Linked DNA regions of Homo sapiens: region 1 is linked to region 2. Evidence: promoter capture Hi-C in 16 types of primary human blood cells and fetal thymus (Javierre and others, 2016). All regions are on one chromosome and are shown on one strand. Each heading gives the region's core, a stretch centred on a gene start or on the middle of the fragment in contact. The rest is flanking DNA. Distances are from core to core; before and after follow the strand shown.

The links. The method cuts DNA at HindIII sites, captures the fragments that hold promoters and counts their contacts. A CHiCAGO score of 5 or more calls a contact.
Region 1: a fragment that was not itself captured here is called in contact with the fragment with the promoter of CDAN1 in region 2 in 1 of 17 cell types (endothelial precursors); the score reaches 6.5 in endothelial precursors.

What each region holds. Positions count from the first base shown.
Region 1 is chr15:42,950,131-42,954,835 of GRCh38, forward strand. UBR1 (ubiquitin protein ligase E3 component n-recognin 1) reads right to left here. Exons shown (of 47, transcript NM_174916.3): 45 at 2,148-2,318; 46 at 132-233. Among named protein-coding and RNA genes, the nearest start is that of TTBK2, 32 kb to the left of the region's middle. The HindIII fragment of the contact is 562 bases long and covers 2,123-2,684 here.
Region 2 is chr15:42,734,906-42,739,169 of GRCh38, forward strand. It overlaps CDAN1 (codanin 1), which reads right to left and starts at 2,223. Exons shown (of 28, transcript NM_138477.4): 1 at 2,108-2,223; 2 at 1,397-1,875; 3 at 970-1,173; 4 at 605-774; 5 at 356-469; 6 at 195-273. The coding sequence starts at 2,197. TTBK2 (tau tubulin kinase 2) reads right to left here. Exons shown (of 15, transcript NM_173500.4): 15 at 3,825-4,264. It overlaps TTBK2-AS1 (TTBK2 antisense RNA 1), which reads left to right and starts at 4,213. Exons shown (of 3, transcript NR_186317.1): 1 at 4,213-4,264. RefSeq lists silencers at 1,450-1,739, 1,830-1,969, 2,160-2,409. The HindIII fragment of the contact is 7,008 bases long and covers 1-4,155 here.

The DNA.
Region 1 (4,705 bases), core at 1,154-3,653, 220 kb after region 2:
GTCTGGCCTCAATTACCTTTTGTGATTAAAGAACTATTACCGTTTACATACAATAATGTGACTGAAATAGAAAACAATCAACATAAAAGAGAACTTACTGAAACCTTCCTATTATATAAAAAAAATCTTACTTCAGGCCAGGGTCTGTTTCTCCATATTCATCCAAGTAAGGAGCTGGATAGGCACAGCCTCTGGCTTTACCTTCAACCAGGACCACTCGGCATTCTCTGATTCTGAAAGAGAAAATCAATAGGAAATATGGTTAAGTGTATGTGTGCAAATGATAGGCACTGCATCAATGTTAACCTAGAGAAAAGACGTGGCCAATATCTGTTAGATATTCAGTAAAAAGACAATATAAACAGACAAATAGACTAAATTATGTTTTGTCTAAATAAAAGAGAACACTTATTGCTATTTCTGTTGAAGCTATAGAAAAGGAGCAGTGGATTTGGTGAAATGAGATCATTTATACTGACGGAATCTGTTGAAGGGAGGAAACTGTCCTACTTCAGCCACAGACACCTTGGAAAATGGTGGCTGGGGTTGTTTCTATTCTAATTCCTGACACAACCTGGAGAGGGGAGGGAACCTCACAGAAGAACAGAATCACATCTCCTAGTCTGATAACCTCAAGCCAGACAGAATATCAACTAGGGAAGTATGCCAGCTTTTCTGGTTAGAGCTGGCCTGAAACACTGCAGATTAAAAGAGCCACTACCACCCTGAAGGCACCTGGGACTTTTATGTCTCTTGGGAAATAGACATAAAAAAGGCTTGCGTACACATATATGGGGGATAAGTACTTTACAGATAAATTATAAAATAAACAGCTGGGATAAGGTAGTGGGTTTACTTGCTGTGGGTTCCCTAAAAATAGGTGTTTGGGTTTGGCTTCCATACATTCTTTCCCCTTGGTTCAAAAGATGCCTATGAACAATGATTACATATTTCACAGTTAGAAAGACATTTGGCTTTATGTAACAGAAACTGTGTTACATGAGGAGAGTGGAAAGAAAAAGGATATATATCCACTTTGAATTTTATTTCTCTGCAGGCAACTTAAACTCTTTTTTCATAAATATAAGTGACTATTTTTCTTTTTTTTCCCAGATAGAGTCTTGCTCTGTCAACCAGGCTGGAGTGCAGTGGTGTAATCTCGGCCTACTGCAACCTCCACCTCCCAGGTTCAAGCGAATTCTCCTGCCTCAACCTTCTGAGTAGCTTGGATTACAGGCATGCGCCACCACGCCCAGCTAATGTTTGTCTTCTTAGCAGAGATGGGGTTTCACCACGTTGGCCAGGCTGGTCTTGAACTCCTGACCTTGTGATCTACCTGCCTCGGGCCTCCCAAAGTGTTGGGATTAAAGGCGAGAGCCACCGCGCCCGGCCATAAGTGACTATTTTTCTATCCTCAATCTTTTGCTGAAAGACCAGGAGAAATGGTGGGTTGATAGATGAAATAAAGATATCACAGGACAATCTAAAGTAAAAATTTACATGTACTTTTTTTTTTGATAGAGGATCTCACTCTGTTGCCCAGGCTAGAATGCAATGGCACGATCATGGCCTTGAACTCCCAGGCTCAAGCAGCCCATCCACCTCAGCCTCTCAAGTAGCTGGGACTGCAGCCATGTGCTACCATGCCTGGCTAATTTTTTATAGAGATGGGGGTCTCGCCTTGCTGCCCAGGCTGATCTTGAACTCCTGACCTCAAGTGATCCTCTTGCCTCAGCCTCCCAAAGTGCTGGGATTATAGGCATAAGTCACTGTGCCTGGCCTACATGTACCTTTTATTTGTTTATTTTTATTTATTTTAAAGAGCTCATCTTCCAGGAAGAGTACTTTTTAAATACAAGTTTTAGGACTTGAAGTTCTTTCATTACACCTGAGTATTATATAATACCAGAGCAATTAATACAAACTCTATCCTATTTAAGATTTTCCATAAATAATGGAAATGTGAACAGAAACTTATTCTTTTTTCACAGTATCTTCTCAAATGCAATTTCATGTCAATAACAGGTTAATACTCTAACTTCTGATTGATTATTTGCTATCAACACACTGTCCCACCATAGTGACCCCCAGATTGGATCCAGATTCCTTAAGTTCATCATGAAGCTTCCAGAACACTCACTACTCACTTTAGGAAAATGCAGACTCCGGCTCCACAGTGAAGTGCGTGAAAAATGCAAGCTCCAACCTCTTCCCCGTTCACAATTTCCTGGCAGCAAATGTTCTGAGAACATAGTATAGCCCCACAGAAAAGGCAGAGGACAGGATGCTTTCGCTCATCATCTGCAGACCGTGGGCACCTCAAAAGAGAAGAAAACATTTAGAGAATGATGGAAAAACAAAACAAAACAAATAAGTACCATATATCCTGTTAGCAATCAAGCATGTTTTCATCACTGACCCCTTTCCAGCAAGGAAGCTCTTAAAACACAAGGAAACATTTAATTAGCCAATTCCTCTTTAATATGCCCCCTAAAAGGGCTTCATGGAAAATCTTCCAATTAATCCATAGTAAGAAAATCTATATTACATAAATGGTGTCCTGATAATTCTCATAAAGTATGGTGGTTGAATATGCCTTGTGATTGAGATTCACTGATAGACTCCAGTCTTCATCTGACATGCCCAATTTACAGTTACCTGCCTCCTCTGTATTGTGTTAGTCAAGCTTGTGTCTTCGATGTTGAAGGAATATGACCTTGTAAGTATGCAATTGTTTAAAAGAAAAAAAATTAAAATTTACAGTAAGGGTCCAAACACATTCCCCCCATTTCTTTTCTTTTCTTTTTTTTTTTGAGACAGTCTTGCTCTGTCACCCAGGCTGGAGTGCAATGGCATGATCTCGGCTCACTGCAACCTCGGCCTCCCCGGTCCAAGCAATTCTCCTGCCTCAGCCTCCCGAGTAGCTGGGACTGAAATGAGAGATTGTAGCCTTTGAGTTGGCCCAGCCTTCCATCTGGGAATCACAGTAAGTCTTAGGAAGGAAAAAGTGATAGTGCTGACTTGCTTGAGTCAACTAGTGTTTTATGATGAGACCATTTTACATAGTATGCTGGAGGCGTGCTATAATGCCCCACCAAGGGGGATAATGGTTATCTTTTAAAAAGGAGTTTCCCATGCTCCTCCCATCTATGCTGTACACTGAACACAATGGGAAATATCAAATTCCTTAATTTGGGAAGTAGAAGATAAATGCAACCGAAGGAGAGATCCAACTAGGCCCACACTGGGGTCGGAATAAAGAAGATCAGAAAGAATCTCCAATAGGGTACTGACAGCCTTTTTTCTGATCCCCAGTTTCTCAGACAGGATAAAAAACAAAACAAAAAACACCTGTCTCCATAGGAGCAGAGGGACTCTGCGCATAGGATGAGAGGACTATTTTCACTTCCGGGAGGTTGCTCCAGAACATAATTATAGCCCTTTTTGGATAAAGCCAACATCTTCTTTCATCTTTAACACAGGATGGCTGAGTCTGAGTCATTAGACATCCTACAGAGGAAAAGCTGGGAGGGAGCCTAAAGTATATGACTGAGCAGCCACCCTCCAACACTAGGGATGGTTCTGTCTTATGGAAATTGGTGGTGACAATAAAACTGGAAGACATCATAGGATTGATTTTCATTCTTATGTGAAATCATAAGTGGTAATATCATCCAGAAGGATCCTCATTGTGATTAATAAAGACCAACACTCTCCACAGATCCTCCGAGGAGCCAACAACTTGATATTCTTTTTTTTTTTTTTTTTTTGAGACAGGGTCTGGCTCTGTCACCCAGGCTGAAGTCCAGTGTCACAGTCACGGCTCACTGCTGCCTCAACCTCCTCGGCTCAAGTGATCTTCTCTCCTCAGCATCCCGAGTAGCTGAGACTACAGGCACATGCCACCAAGCCTAGCTAATTATTTTGTATTTTTTGTAGAGACAGGGTCTCCCCATGTTGCCTAGGCTGGTCTTGAACTCCTGAGTTCAAGAGATTCACCCACCTCAGCCTCCCAAAGTGCTGGGGTTACAGACATGAGCCACTGTACTCAGCCAACCTGGTATTCTTAATGCCTGGAAGATAATATCTATTCACCAGGCTTTTGTGGTAGCAATGTAGCCCCAAGATTAGGAAAATTACTGAATTTAGAGATGGATGCAATCTTTGAAACTAATTAGCTAATTGTTTGAGGGCTGAAAGGTAAAGTGACCCAACCATTCCTTTAGATGATTGACTAGAAAGGGAGCTAGAACAGGAAGGTCAATTTTATACTGTAACAGTGGCTAGGGTGTGAGCTACTGAAGACCCTATTGGGCCAGTTAACTTCCCCAACTTCATGGCTTAAAACAATGGTTATAACTAGATAAGAGAATTTCCTGAGTCATTCCGCAGGGCAGTGATTCTCAGAGCGAGTCAAAGAGGGGCTCTTTAAGACCTCAAATGATCTTTTATTTTTTGAGACAGTCTTACTCTGTTGCCCAGGCTGAAGTGCAGTGGTGTGACCTCAGCTCACTGCAACCTGTGCCTGCACGTTGAAGTGACTCTCGTGCCTCAGCCTCCTGAGTAGCTGGAACTACAGGATGCGCCAACATACCTGGCTAATTTTTTTTGTATTTTTAGTAGAGATAGCATTTTGCCATGTTGGCCAGGCTGGTCTCAAACTCTTGGCCTTTAGTAATCTGCCCGCCTTGGCTTCCCAAAATGT
Region 2 (4,264 bases), core at 973-3,472:
ACCACACCTGGCCCGATCTCAATTCTTTCAGGGACTACATTCATAGCCTTAACACAAAATTAAAGAAAGATTATAGGTAGGAGAAGGTCCAGGACCACTGCCCCTGTGTTAAGCACCAGCATATATCCCAAGCAGCCAGAGAGCTAAGCAGATGATGAGAATGAGGCCCAAATGCCTCAGCCAGGGAAACTCACTGAAAGTGACACTCCAAAACCTGCACTGCAAAGAAGACACAATCGTGGATGCTTTGGAACAGTGGACTTTCCAGGGAATCTAGAAGGACAGTACCAAGCTGTCAGTTAAGAACGGTCCCGTTTCTAGACCCCATGTCTCAAAAGGAGGCTTGCTCACTGACCTAGGACAGCTGGACTTAGTTCAGGGTCGCTGTCCTTGGCAGTCACCATCCTCCGGGCAGTGAGGAGCTGAAAGACGAAGAAAAGCTCCAAGAAGAGGTTTGGTACCAGGTTCTCTAGATAGATACAAAAAGAAAGCCCATGGTATGGGCACCATTTGGAGCCAAGGCTCAGTTCCAAGTGCCTTACCAATTCTCTTACCCATAAGTTCTACAAGTGTCTCCACTCCCGCTCCCTCCGCTCTCACTCACCAGCAATGCACGAGGAGTAAACAAGGGCTACAAGCTCCAGGCGCTGGCGGGAAGACACTCTGGCAGGGTCTGCAGGTTCATCTGTGAGGCTTCCTGTCCGGCTGGGGAGGGGCGACCCCAATTCTGGGGTGGGACAGGTGGGGGTAGGTGACTGCTGCAGCTGCTTAGAGCTATGGAATAAAGAAATTTCATGAGCAGTCAGCTTGGCTTCCCTGCTACGGCCACACTCAGGTCACTCCAGAGAAGATACCAACAGCCCAGGAGACAAACCCAGAGTCCCCAAGAGGGAAATCAATTTCAGGGAAAACCCCTGAAGATCCCCCACAGCGAGGAAACCGATATCCCCAGGAGCGGCCAGGCCATACCGCTCCTTCCTGAGCATCTCTCGCTCCTCTTGCAGACTTCTGCACCCTGGGGGAAGGCCAAGGCCCCAAGGGCTAGTGTCCAGGGCTGAGGGTTGGGAACTGGGGACACAGCTGATTGGGGGTGAGGTGAAGCAGGTCTTGGGCTTGGAGAGTGACCGCTCTTCGCTCACCGGAGTTGGGTTGATCCTGCGAGAAGGCTTCGTCCTGCTGAGAGTAGCCACAGGTTTTTCTCAAATTCCTATCTTCAAACATCTCCCCTCCACCACCGCAACAGCTAGACCTCTTGCCAAAAAACCCCACAAAAACCCTCACCATCACCCCCAGCCTTCTACCCATCCTGGCGCTCCACTGCGGAGCGCCGAGCTCGAATGACTGACTCCCCAGAGCCTTCGTGGTACCCATCTCCTGCATGAGAGCTGAGTCTCACCCTGTAGGGCCGGGGGGAACCGAGCCTACGGGAGGGAACTCCTCCAGGTTGCTGAGGTTTGGCGGATCAGACAGCGTGAGGCTGGGGCGGCTGGGGCTGCCAGAGCCCCTAAGCCTCCGGCCCCCGGCTCCGGGCAGGCTCTCCCCGCTGACCCCCTCCTCCAGGCCGCGGCCTCCACGCTCGCGGGCCGGCCCCGGGCCCCGCCTCCTGCCCCCGCGGCGGGCCAGAGGGGCCTCGGCAGCGGTGCTCTGGGCCTCGGTCGGAGGGAAAAGCTGGCTGCGCGCCCCGCGGCTACCCCGCGGCGGGCCTCCCGGCCTCCCTGGCAAGGCTGCCGAGGCGCCCGGGGTCTTGGCGGGGGTCGGGGGCCCCTGCGGGAGGACGCGGCTGCTCTGCTCCCTCAGGAAGTTCAACAGGAACGGTACGAATTCTTTCCGCAGGGCCCGGAGTGAGCTCAGCGCGGCCGCCTCCCCAGCGTTATCCTAGGGCAGAAGCACAGGTGGAGGGGCGAGAGGGTCAGCCGCCGGCCCGCGGGCCGTGAGCAGCCGGGGCCGTAGGGCGCGCCTCGGGTGGGCGGCCCGGGCAGCGGCGCCCAGTTGGAGTGCACTCGGCCCGGCTGGCAGCCAGGCGCCCTAGAGGAAGGGGACTGGAGGGCTGGACTCCACTGCGGGAACCGGCTTCGAGTCAGACCTGGGGGCGTGTCACCGCTGTTACCTCCGAACCCTGGGTGCTGCGCGCGATCCACCGCACGACGGCTGCGACCGACACCTCTTCTCGCAGCAGCGACTCCAAAACGGCCGCCATCCCGGTCGGGGCGCTCTGGGGCGACTGCGCAGGCGCCGGCGCGCCGCGGGCGGCCAGGGAGGGGCGGGGCCGGCGGCGGGGAACGACCGTTGGGTCGCGGGATGGGGAGGGACCCGGCTGGCGGGGCGGGGCGGAGCCGGCTGTTGCCCAGACCCACGGAGTCAAGGCCTCGCTGAGTCCTCAACCCCGGCCGAGAGGCCGGTTGTTAGGAGGTGAAATGTGGATCACAGCGCCTGGGGAGGCCCACCTTGGCTGCCCGCCCTGGAGCGACCTGAAGGGAGGGATTCGAGCTGGGAGTGGGGCTGCCGCGGGTCGGACGCCCCTCTAGGGAGACCCAGGACCCGGGAGAGAGGTAGAGGGGAGCAGAGACAGCCACCAGCTTCTATCTTCTGCTCTAAGCACATTCTTTCACGAGTTTAAGTTTCCTAGATCCAACTGGCACCACCCCAGAGAAATTATAATCTAATCTTTCATTTTGACTTTGTTCTTCTCAAAGGCCGATTTTTCAATCCCTTGGCCGAGCAGTACCCATCGGCTTTTCAGCGCTCACCATCAACTGACCATTTAGGAAAGAATTATTTCTAGGAGGTTCTTAATAATCCCCAAGCCACAACCCTTAAAGTGCCTCGGGCCACCCTGCACACAGAATTGCTTGTATGTAGCTTTATTTACTTAAGTGGGTTTACATGAGGTTAATATTTCAACTACTTTGCAGTTTAGATGTCAGTAAGCATATCATGATTAGCTTCTGGGAGCTTGAGGTTTGTATTTTTGGGTTTGGTGTTTTTTGTTTTTGTTTTGTTTTTTTTGAGACAGGGTCTTGCTCTGTTGCCCAGGCTGGAGTGCAGTGGCGTGAGCACGGCTCACTGCAGCCTTGGCCTCCTGGGCTCAAGCAATCCTCCCGACTCAGCCTCCCTAGGGCTATAGCCCAGCTAATGTTTTGGCCGGGAGAGGGCAGCAGATCCAAAGTGCTGGGATTATAGGCGTGGGCCACCACGCCCGGCCTGAGTAATTTCTTAATCTCCTTTATTTAATTTTATTTTGAGATGGAGTCTCGCTCTGTCACCCCCGGGGCTGGAATGCAGTGGGAGGCAGAGGTGGGCGGATCACGAGGTCGAGAGATGGAGACCATCCTGGCCAACATGGTGAAACCGTGTCTCTAATAAAAATACAAAAATTAACTGGGCGTGGTGGCACGCGCCTGTAGTCCTAGCTACTGGGGAGGCTGAGGCAGGAGAATCGCTTGAACCTGGGAGGCGGAGGTTGCAGTGATCCAAGATCACGCCACTGCACTCCAGCCTGGGTGACAGAGCGAGACTCCATCTCAAAAACAAAACAAAACAAAAAAACCTGAGAGAGGATTTTGAAGGTTGCTGCTCAGTGACAAATCAAGCAAGGGAATCCAAGCGGAGAAAAACAGATGGCACGAACATTCCATGTCAAACCAAACCAGGAGGGGTGAGGCAGTGCCCTTGTGAATGCCTCCTGAGAGTTGCTCTGGTTCAAAGGAAGGTTACGGGCGGAAGGATGAGGGTGGGGGTGCAGGAATCTCTCTAGTGGCAGAAGGGGTATTTCCTATGGAGAAGGAAAAAGTACCTCCAGCCAGACAGAATAATGGACTAAAAAGGAGCTTTTAATATTTTAATTTTATTACAGGAAAACATCTCCTAACTGCAGGGACACTTAACACCTAGCTTCTATTCAGTCCTGGGCTGCTTTTTCTAGGGAACTTCTAGATGTGGTACTGCATTTACAGTAACACTATCTGCTCCCCGTTGATCTTGTAACATCTGGTGTATTCAATAACTTTATTAAATTAGAAAAATATTTTCCACTTTTGAAATCCAGACCATCACACAAACAGAACTAGATTTTGCATGCGGAATGAATATTTTATTACTAGGTTATAAAAATAAAATACAAAATAATTTTAAAACAGAACTTAAAACACTGTACAAAGCTTTAATATGATACAAATGGGAAAATTAAATAAATAATTACACTTTTATGTACAGGTGGCCTATACAAAAGCACTCCATGTTTCTGCCGATACTCTGTCCTTGGTTG